Linked DNA regions of Homo sapiens: region 2 is linked to region 1. The links are contacts of gene promoters, found by promoter capture Hi-C in human tissues and cell types (Jung and others, 2019). All regions are on one chromosome and are shown on one strand. The core of a region is centred on a gene start or on the middle of the fragment in contact, and the rest is flanking DNA. Distances in the headings are between cores, read along the strand shown.

Region 1 (5,478 bases), core at 1,937-4,436:
GTCCCACAGTATGTCAGTGGCAGGTCTTTCTTCCTGAAGACTATAGCAGACCCCCAACCCCGAGGATGCCAGGCAGGTGGGTTGGATGAAAGAGACCTGGAGGTCTGGTCTCAGGCTGCTCCTCTAAGCGCAGCAGCAAGGAGGGTGGGGCTGGACTGCAGGAGGTGCTGGGGAGCAGCGTGTTTGCTGTGCTTGATTGTGAGCTGCTGGGAAGTTGTGACTTTCATTTTACCTTTCGAATTCCTGGGTATATCTTGGGGGCTGGAGGACGTGTCTGGTTATTATATAGGTGCACAGCTGGAGGTGAGATCCACACAGCTCAGACCAGCTGGATCTTGCTCAGTCTCTGTCAGAGGAAGATCCCTTGGTAAGTTGGGGATGGTGTGACCTCCCTCCATCTCCTTATTCTCGCAATAGCTCTATGAGGGAAGGATCATTCAGCTTTTGTAGATAAGCTCGGAGAGGTTAGGTAACTCGTTCAGATCAGACAGGAAAGCAGTGGTAGAGCCGGGATTTGCACCCAGGCTTGAGTCTGATTGCTCCCTCCCTCCTGCTGGGCCCTTAAACCGTAGAGAGAGGTGGGGAAATAGCTCAGATGGGTTCACAAAGCTCTCTGGGCTCAGCTCTGTTTTAGACTGCTGAGACATGGCCAGGTGACCCCAGAAGGAAGGTTTGTGTTGGGGGTGCCCATCTCTTTGGGAAATTTGAAGGAATCAAAGAAGGTGGAGGTGGGGAGGTGACCTGGAGCCCGGTCTGTCCTTATGGTCTGGCCACAACCAGGCTGGCCCCGGGGTGCGGCTGCTGAGGCCTGATGAGGCAAGAGATTTCTTTTGAGATACAAGGAACCTAGAGGTCATCTCACCCACCCTGAGTCTGAGCACCTACTTGTGCCAGGCCCTGTGGGGAAACTGAGGCCCTGGGAGGGGAGTGACTTGCCCAGGGTCCAGTGTCAGGAGGCTGAGCAGGTAGATCATAGGACTCCATGTCTGTGGCCCTCACCTCTGTCCCTCTGTTCAGACCTCTGGGGTGATGGAGAAGAAACAGGCTGTGCTGTGTCCCTAATGGGAAACTGTAGGGAGACCCCCTGAAACTATTGCTACGGAATAAAAGATGAAATGCTCCTGATTATTGTAAATACAAAATTGCATGCAGGATTGTGTAAAGACAATGCCAGGTTGGACTGCCAGAACGAACCAACAGCACGTGATGTGCTTCCCCCTGCAGAGAGCCTATGAATGGATGCAGGGGGGCGCCTGTCCATATGGACAAGCTAGGGCTATAAATGCTATCATCTTGCCGTGGCTCTTCTAGGCATCTTTAGGGTTCAGGTATACTCCCTTCTGAGAATTTCTAGTCTAACCGGTTATCTAGCTTCACGTCCTGTTTCCATGGATTGTCAGTAACCAGCTTTTGTTGCAATTGTTACTGCTGATTAATATCTTGCTAATCATAGGTTATGGAAAGATTGTGTTTCTGTTTTAAGGCTCTGTTAGAAATTACTGACGCACACACTATATTGTAAATTCTTATCTCTGTATACTGTACTTCTACATACAAATGCACTGTACTTCTACATACGAATGTTATGTTAAAGAATTACTTCATCCCCATGTGACCATCCCACCTCGTAATCAAATGACCCTAAATCCCTCACTAACCTACCCCCGCCCTCACTAAACTGAATAATAAATGCTGGTATATCCAGTGCATTGTTGACCAGAAGGCGGTGACCCCCCTGGACCCAGCTTTCACTATCTTGTGTGTGTCTATTATTTCTCAACCTGCCGATCCGCCTAGGAGCAAAGAGAGAGCCCCGTTGCACTGGGGGCTGCTGGCCAGATCCCGCAATAGGAAACATGGCTGAGACAGGGGAGTGAGAAGGTCGCATTGCAGAATGGTGCCTGTGGCATGACGCCAGCTTTGTAATCATGAGATTCAAAAGCCACCTGTGGAATTGTGAGTGTAACTACAGGAGTGAGAGCTTAGATCTCTGTGTTTGTAGAAGCAGAATCAAACCTGGACACTGTTGGATTACTAAAATCACCCGTTTTTCTTCAATAGCAGAGTCACAAGGGCAGATGTTGGCTTCCCGTCTGCTCTCCAAGAGCTGTGCGACTCTGGGCAAGTCACCTCCCCTCCCAGCCTAAGATTTTCCCCTCTCAGAAACCTGATAGAGCTGCCAAAAGTCCATGAAATCAGGGGGGTAATTTCTGTGAAATCTGAGTCGTGGTCTTATTTTTCTTTTTCTTTTTTTTTTTTTCTTTTTTCTGAGATGGAGTCTCGCTCTGTTGCCCAGGCTGGAGTGCAGTGGCGCAATCTCTGCTCACTGCAAGCTCCGCCTCCCGGGTTCACACCATTCTCCTGCCTCAGCCTCCCGAGTAGCTGGGACTACAGGCGCCCGCCACTACACTCGGCTAATTTTTGTATTTTTAGTAGAGATGGGGTTTCACCATGTTAGCCAGGATGGTCTCCATCTCCTGACCTTGTGATCTGCCTGCCTCGGCCTCCCAAAGTGCTGGGATTACAGGCGTGAGCCACCGCTCCCGGCCTGATTTTTCTTCACCAAAAAGAGATGCCCATCAAGATAGAAAGCACTATAGCTGAAGCCTGTAATCCCAGTGCTGTGGGAGGCAGAGGCGGGAAGATCACTTGAGGCCAGGAGTTCAAGACAGCCTGAGAAACACAGGAGATGCTGTCTCTATGAAATCAAAAATTAACAAATTAGCCCAGCATGGTAGCGTGCACCTGTAGTCCCAGCTACTCAGAAGGTTGAAGGAGGAAGATCACTTGAGCCCAGCAGATCTAGGCAGCAATGAGCTAGGATGGCGTCAAAGCCCTGCAGCCTGGGTGACACAGCAAAACGGTTTATTAAAAATGAAATGAAAATGGTGATTTCTCAGGAGGAGCACACTGTCTCAACCCCTCTTTTCCTGCCCAAGGAGGAGGCCCCGCAGCGACATGGAGGGAGCTGCTTTGCTGAAAATCTTTGTCGTCTGCATCTGGTGAGCTTGGCTCAGAGCCCTGAGGTGGGAGGGAGGGCTCCCTGTCTGGGCTGCACAATTGGGCAGGGCTTGGGCTGGGCCAGGAGCCATGTGGGTTTTTCTAGGAACCAAAATCACTTCCCGGAATTGACCAACTGGTAGACTCGCCTAGAGGGGACGCACTGTGTCCTAGTTGAGGCTAACAGTCAGTATCCAGCCTCAACATTCAGCAGAGGCCCCAGATCAGCGTCTGAGCCAGGCCAACAATGACCAAGGAGGATGGGATCCTGGGTGCAGCTCATCACAAGCGTCGGGTGAGTCCGAGGCCCCAGCTCTCTGCCCTCCTGCTCCTCTGCTCTCTCCTGGTCCTCCCAGTTCTACTGGCTCATGGTGTTGAGATGGTTGCCTTGGCCTAGGGGGTCACACAGTGAACAAAGCAGGAAGAAGGCGAAGGGATGCCCCTCTCCTGTCACCCCTGTCCCTTACAGCAAGAAGCGCCCAGACGCCCCTCTGCATACTCCCCTGGTGAATGCTGCCCAGGACTGGGTCCCCCTTTTACCCTTGTTGCATGGGGGCCCCAGAAGACAGACATCTGTGTGTCTGAACCCTGAGACAAAGGCAGGAAAGGGAAAGAGGGAGGCGAGTGGCTTTTGAGGAGGGGGCTTTAGTATGAGAGCTGGAGGATGGAACCCCATCAGGGGGCCCGGGAACCACTGAGCTGTTAAAATAAAGTCTGCAAACAAAGACCAGCTGCTGGAAGTGGGTGTGCCAGGGAGTGCGCAGAGACACACGGTGAGAAAAGAACAATGGTAATGCTTGGAGCCGCCCCTAACTGGGATGGGCCTGAAATGGTATTGTTATTATTTATAGTATCATTATTAGTCATTTTCATCTTATTTGTACCCTCCCTCTATCTCTCCTCTCCACCTTTTCCTAACATTCTATCACCAGTTTTATGTCTTCCATTAGCAACTTTGTAGCTGTAAACAATTTACTTACAACTTTCTTATACCCTCAGTTGTACCCAGTATTTCTTAACTTCCATCTTTAAAAAATGACAATATTAATCCTCCTTCTCCTTTGTTCAGTGCTTCACATCTCAACTGCTACCTTCGTGCCTTAAAGTTTGTACTAATTGGTATTGATAACAAGATATTTAGTTCTCAAATTTACATGTTGTGTATATATTTTTTGTCCTGATAAAGAGACTACTGAGAGCCAGTAAGACTGAAAGAATGGGCATCTTCATATACTGCTAGTTTGAGTGTGAATTGGTACAATTTGCATGTAGTGTGGCTCTAGGTATAAAACATTTTGAGATGTTGATACCCTCTGACCTAGTCATTCTACTCCTACAAATATCTTAAGGAAATAAAATCAAATGTGGGCAGTTTTACGTGAAGGAGGGTGTTCTTTGTAGCATAATTTACATGAAGAATTAGAAACACCCTAAGGTCCATCAGCTAGGGGAGGACAGCAGAGGGAACAGGGCAGCGCCAGGAGGGCTCGGCAGCCACAGCAGGGGCTAGGCCGGCATCTGGCAGGATCCAGGTCTTTGTGGGACAAAGGATCTTAGAGAAGCAAGGGGGACACAGGCTGTCCACTGCAGCACCAGTGAATTCACCAAGACGAAAAGTTGAGCACGGAGTGTGAGACATGGATTTGCAATGAGGAGTCATTTACCATGAGCGTGTATACATGACTCAATATTGTATATTTAAGGGAGTAGAGCACAGTCATTGAAGACATGAGGTTGAAGCAGAAGTCCTGGCTCTAGCAATAGAAAACACTGGCAAGTTCCCTAACTTTTGTGGATTCCTCTGTGTTCAAATGGGAAAGTGGTACCCATCTCCCGGGCTGTGTGTGATCATTGAATGAGACACATGTCAGAAGCCCTGCACATCACAGGCCCGGCGCGACCGCTCACGCCTGTAATCCCAGCACTTTGGGAGGCCGAGACGGGCTGATCATGAGGTCAGGAGATCGAGACCATCCTGGCTAACACGGTGAAACCCCTTCTCTACTGAAAATACAAAAAATTAGCCGAATGTGGCGACGGGCACCTGTAGTCCCAGCTACTCGAGAGGCTGAGGCAAGAGAATGGCGTGAACCTGGGAGGCGGCGCTTGCAGTGAGCCGAGATCGCGCCACTGCACTCCACCTGGACGACAGAGCGAGACTCCGTCTCAAAAAATATAAATAAATAAAAATAAAAATAAAAAAAGAAGCCCTGCACATCACAGACACTCAATACAGACTGGCTATCATCAATTAGTTGTCACACATGTTTCCGGTCATTGTTAGAACGTTCCTTCCCATCTCTATTTCTGCGTATAGACTGTGTAGTTTCTGTAATGATCAGATGGCTGCCCCTCCTCTGATTATCTTCTCCTCATTCTCCAACAGGACAAGCGGACTTTTCCTTGGTGTGAGAGTGAGGGAAGAGGGAGCTGGAATGAGTTGAGTGTCTGTAAATAGCAGATGATGGGGACTTGGTG
Region 2 (5,478 bases), core at 2,186-4,685, 100 kb before region 1:
TCGCGCCCCCCCTTGCCTTGGCTTTTCCTGCCTGCTTACACCCCCGTTCCCTGATCTGCCCCTGGGCTTCTGGGCAGGTTCCCCGCACTGTGCCTATCGCCGGCCTGTAGTAGCAAACTGGGCAAATGAGGGGCTGTGTCTGGAATTTGGAGACGTCACATTCAAATCTTAAAACACTGTAATCCCAGCAATCTGGGAGGCTGAGGCGGGAGGATTGCTTGAGGCCAGGAGTTTGAGACCATTCTGGGCAACATAGGGAGACCCTCATCTCTACAAAAAAATTAAAAAAAAAAAAATCAGCTGGGTGTGATGGTGCATGCCTGTAGTCCCAGCTGCTCAGGAGGCTGAGGCGGGAGGATCACTTGAGCACAGGTCAAGGCTGCAGTGAGCTGTGATTGCACCACTGTACTCCAGCCTGGGTGACAGGGTGAGACCCTGCCTCAAAAAAAAAAAAAAATCTTAAAACAGCAAAAATTGTTTAAAAATTTGTATCCTCCTTAGAGCTTCATGCCTAAAGACAGCGTCTTAAACTGCTTGAATGGCTGCGAGTGTCTTAGCATGAGGTTCAGGTATGCACACTGCTGTGTCTGTGCACCTGAAAGCTGAAGTGGCATCTGTGTGTTCATTCAACAGTTGCTCGGCAAGGTCTGCTCCATGGGGGTGGGGCCAGGACACACTCAGCTAAAAGGGCCAGTTATGATGAGGCCACATTAACCTTTCTCTGGACAACCTGAGTGGCTTTTGCAAGTTACCACGCCCAGGAAACCTGTGGTAGCCAGGAATATTGACCCTGTGGTGGGTACATAAGGTCAAAGATGACTCCCTTTTTTTTTTTTTTTGAGACAGAGTTTTGTTCTTGTCACCCAGGCTGGAGTGCCATGGTGCAATCTCGGCTCACTGCAACCTCCGCCTCCTGGGTTCAAGTGATTCTCCTGCCTCAGCCTCCCAAGTAGCTAGGATTACAGGCACCCGCCACCACGCCCAGCTAACTTTTGTATTTTTAGTAGAGATGGGGTTTCACCATGTTAGCCTGGCTGGTCTCGAACTCCTGACTTCAGGTGATCCACCCGCCTCAGCCTCCCAAAGTGCTGGGATTACAGGCGCGAGCCACCATGCCCAGCCACCTCCCATTTTAATTGACTGGTTTGTAGGCTCCATCCACACTCCTGGCTTCTGTCTTAAGCAAGCATCCTTTTTGCTGTCTTCAAGTAAATAATAGTAATCTGGCCGTGAAGGAATACGAAACGGGCTTCGTCAGTATTCTTCACTTTTATATCCAGTAATAGAAGGCTTCACATTTAACATTAGCTCTTGCTTAAACTGATCTCAAATCGCTGGCCACTTTGGTTTGGCTTGTTTGTTTGTTTTTTACCTTGGAGGATGCAATTGGTTTAATTGCTGCTGGGTGTGAGTTCCAGTGCTAGGGGCTGCTTCCCTTGAGGGTCGGTTTACATGAGAAAGACCCGTGCACCAGGAGACAAAATGAAATACAAGTACGTGAAGAGATCCCTAAACTTTGGAGTATTTATAATCAAGAGCAGTTCTTTGGAGCTCTCCCTTCCTGAGATGTCTGCGTAGATATAGAGGGGACCCTGCAAGGTTCTGCAGACAGTGACAGGGTGGCCCCAAGCTCTGCCTCCTGACTCCCAGCCGAGTGCTCTTATGACAGGGTCAGTGAGAATTCAAGATACTGATTTTTTTTTTTTCTAACTGTGACCATAGGACAGCAGGATTCCGTAAGCCAGGTTTTCACACCCCTCGTTAGAGCCAGGCTAGTAGAATTCTCACTATTCCAAAATACATGACTAGCTTCATTGAGTCTTTTTGGAAATAAGAGCTTCGAGAGTGGCTGAAGATAGGTGACAGGAAGGTGAGGTGGCCATGGCAGATGCATGGCTCCCCAAGAGACAAGCCCAGTGCCTTTGCATCCCCCTTGGCTTCCCGCTGTGTTTGGGGATGACCTTAGCACCCAGTGTAGGCTCCAATTGGAAAGGGTCCTGTTGTTTCATTCTGTCTCCTCTTTTCCTGTCCGACGTGTGCCTGTCTCTCTCTCCTACGTGCTCCCCCACCACCCAGCTGCAACTGTGTGGGCACTCACGTGTTCTCTGTGGTCTCCACAGTGGACCGCATCATCGGCCTGGACCAGGTGGCCGGCATGTCGGAGACCGCACTGCCCGGGGCCTTCAAGACGCGGAAGGGCATGTTCCGCACTGTGGGGCAGCTTTACAAGGAGCAGCTGGCCAAGCTGATGGCTACGCTGAGGAACACGAACCCCAACTTTGTCCGCTGCATCATCCCCAACCACGAGAAGAAGGTGCGGCTGCCTGGTGGGGTGGCCCGGGCAGGGCACTGTGGTGTGGGGTGCTCAGCCCTTGTCTGTCTCCCCAGCAAAAGCACCCCTCCAGCCCCCCAGCATGCACAGAGCCTTCAGTCGTTTCTCTGCAGGGTGGGCCTTGGCTCGCTTAGGAGATACGCTACATTCACAGCCTGCACTTCCTCTTGGTGGCATTGGCCCCTCCCAGACCTGGATCCTTTGACTTCATTGTCCAAACCTGTGGGCTGTAGCGACCCCCTCCCTTAGGCTCTTGCCCTGTCAGGTTCATAGGGGTTCCCTGACTATTCTCCGACTGTTCTAGGCACGGAAGTGAGACCGCATGCATGTGTTTTCTTCTCCAGGCCGGCAAGCTGGACCCGCATCTCGTGCTGGACCAGCTGCGCTGCAACGGTGTTCTCGAGGGCATCCGTATCTGCCGCCAGGGCTTCCCCAACAGGGTGGTCTTCCAGGAGTTTCGGCAGAGGTGAGCCAGGGCCCGGAGCCCGCTTCTCCTGGGCCCTGCTGTGCGTGCAGTGAGTCCCAGAGGTGGGCTGCTGCTCCCTGGCAGGATCCTGTCGTGAGGGAGCGACGTCCTCCATCCATGTAGAACTGAGTCTGGCCAGCTCTTCCCCACCTCCTTCTCTTTTCCACCCTTTGCAGGAAAGGAGACTTCCCCATTTTAATACCGAAATGCAGGTCATCATCATCCTGTTGACTTTTGCTCCTAGTAACTGCCGGCCCTGGTGCTATTTGCTACAGTTAGAGGAGCTATGAAAAGAAATGTAAAAGAATCAGCCAGAGACCTAGGATATTACAGGAACTTTGTGGAAATGAAACACGGCCGTGCGTTGCTGTGTGCGAAGACGGCGACACCTTCCTGTTTCTCTAATGACTGTGCTGAGTGTCAGTTGCTGTCGGGACGCAGCCCTTTATTTCTTGGGCCATCTCTGTTTATTAGCAGCTCCCTGCAGCGTCCCAGGGAAGCTGTGTGAACATGGCTGTCCCTGGGTGACAGATGAGGATCTCAGGCAATTAGCACTTAGTCCAACCTGAAGCACGCCCTTGAGTGATTGAAACGGTCCTACACGAGTTTCCATTCACTTTCCGGAAAACACCAAGGCTTCCTTGTCTCATTCAGCCGAAGAAAAGAGTGGGGTGGGATTTGCCTGTGTCTTCTTTCCTTAGGAGAGTTTGTGTAAAGAATTCTGTGTCTGTTGCATTGTAGAAATGATGTTAATCTCTCGCCTATATTCCAGGCATGTGGAATCGAGGCAATGGGTAAAATGACCAGGCTTCTCTTTCCTTCCTCAGATATGAGATCCTGACTCCAAACTCCATTCCCAAGGGTTTCATGGACGGGAAGCAGGCGTGCGTGCTCATGGTGAGTTGAGCTGCTGTCCCTGCCTCTCTGGATGGGCAGCCCCTTGTCTGGGGAGTGCCCACGTGGCCAGGGCCCACCTTGCTATATCAGTGGTCGGTGGATGCCCAGGCTGTGTCCCTTCTGATGCTCCGCGTCTGACTCTGCCGGGCGCCCTTTGCAGTAGCCCCTAGGCCTCAGATAGCCAGGGATGGTGTTTGGCACCAGGGTTGTGTGGAGGAGACAAGAACTGTAGCCATGGCCGGGCTCTGATGTAAGATGATGGCCTCTTTGGTTTGGGGGACATTCTCCTGCTTTCTTGCTCACGGGCCTGACTCCACATCCAGTGTGGTGAGCAGGGCAGCTCACAGCCAGGGCAGCAGGCCTGGTGCTCCGTGACCTGGGCTTCTCCTCCCTCCCTCCCCACTCCCAGCCCTAGCGCAGTGCTGGACGGGCTGTGCGCATGCTCTGAGTTCCGGTTGATTGAAAGCCCTGCGGTGACTCAGTGCCAAGCCAGGGCTGAATCCCACCCTGCTCCTTTTTTCCCCTTCCCAGCATCCTGTTGTTTCTGGCGTGTCCAGGTTAGCAGCTGCTACCTTTGGCCTTGTTTTACTTCACGTTCTTTCTAAAGAATCAGAAAGCTTTGGCTGCAGAGTAGGGAGTTGGTGGGAGGAAAAGAGAAGGAAAAATTCAACACCTACTGTGTGCACAGCCTGCGTTCGGTGACGGGGAGATAGGGAACAGGAAGAAGGAGGGAGAGGAGATGGCTTTCTGCTCTCCAGATGCTCGTCAGCCAGTGAGAAGAAGGGTGAAGGGCACACCTCCAGCTGTGCCTGGGCCACCCTTTCATGGAGCTGTGGCCAGTTGCTGGCCAGGTAAACGGCCTGCTCCTCCCACCTAGATAAAAGCCCTGGAGCTCGACAGCAATCTGTACCGCATTGGCCAGAGCAAAGTCTTCTTCCGTGCCGGTGTGCTGGCCCACCTGGAGGAGGAGCGAGACCTGAAGATCACCGACGTCATCATAGGGTTCCAGGCCTGCTGCAGGGGCTACCTGGCCAGGAAGTGAGTCCCGGGAGATACTCCTGCCCCGCATGCCAGGCCTTGCCACGCCCTTCTGTTGCCAAAGGGCACTTAGCAGGCCACCCCGCTGCAGCCAGTCACATGCCTGTCAGGGAGGCCCAGGTGGCTCTTCCTACCCCTGTTCCTGGATTTCTACCTTTGAGGAGTAGAATCGGGCAGTTCTTTTTTTTTTCTTTTTTTTTTTTTTTTTTTGAGACGGAGTCTCACTCTGTCGCCCAGGCTGGAGTGCTGTGGTGCGTTCTCGGCTCACTGCAACCTCCACCTCCCACGTTCAAGTGATTCTCCTGCCTCAGCCTCACTTAGTAGCTGAGGTTACAGGTGCACGCCACCACGCCCAGCTAATTTTTGTATTTTTAGTAGAGACGGGGTTTCGTCATTGTTGCCCAGGCTGGTCTCGAACTCCTGACCTCAAGTGATCCGCCCACCTCAGCCTCCCAAAGTGCTGGGATTACAGGCATGAGCCACTGCTCCTGGCTGAATCTGGCATTTCTGATTGGGGTTTAGAGTGATGGGTGGGAAGAGGCTGACTCTGCTTGGATTTGCCTGCCTGAAGGATCCTGCTTACCAGGACTCCTTACCGTGTGACCCTTGTGGGGACAGCACCCAGAGCCTGCCTGTCCCTAAAGAACCCTGTGATTCCAGGGGAGCAGGCCATCCTCGAGTCCAGACTCATCTTTGACTCCCTGGGGAATGACGGCTCCCCTGCTGCAGGACAGCGGCTGTGGGC

The links. Contacts are between HindIII fragments. The study calls those that stand out against the background at their distance.
Region 2: a contact is called between a fragment that was not itself captured here and the fragment with the promoter of APOL4 in region 1, in 4 of the 25 tissues and cell types used here (aorta, mesendoderm cells, pancreas and 1 more).

The regions. Positions count from the first base shown.
Region 1 is chr22:36,199,517-36,204,994 of GRCh38, reverse strand. It overlaps APOL4 (apolipoprotein L4), which reads left to right and starts at 3,186. Exons shown (of 4, transcript NM_001386885.1): 1 at 3,186-3,295. The coding sequence starts at 3,261. RefSeq lists an enhancer at 2,711-3,210. The HindIII fragment of the contact is 28,208 bases long and covers 1-5,478 here.
Region 2 is chr22:36,303,250-36,308,727 of GRCh38, reverse strand. MYH9 (myosin heavy chain 9) reads left to right here. Exons shown (of 41, transcript NM_002473.6): 16 at 2,121-2,314; 17 at 2,677-2,798; 18 at 3,626-3,695; 19 at 4,573-4,733. Among named protein-coding and RNA genes, the nearest start is that of MIR6819, 19 kb to the right of the region's middle. The HindIII fragment of the contact is 4,653 bases long and covers 1,109-5,478 here.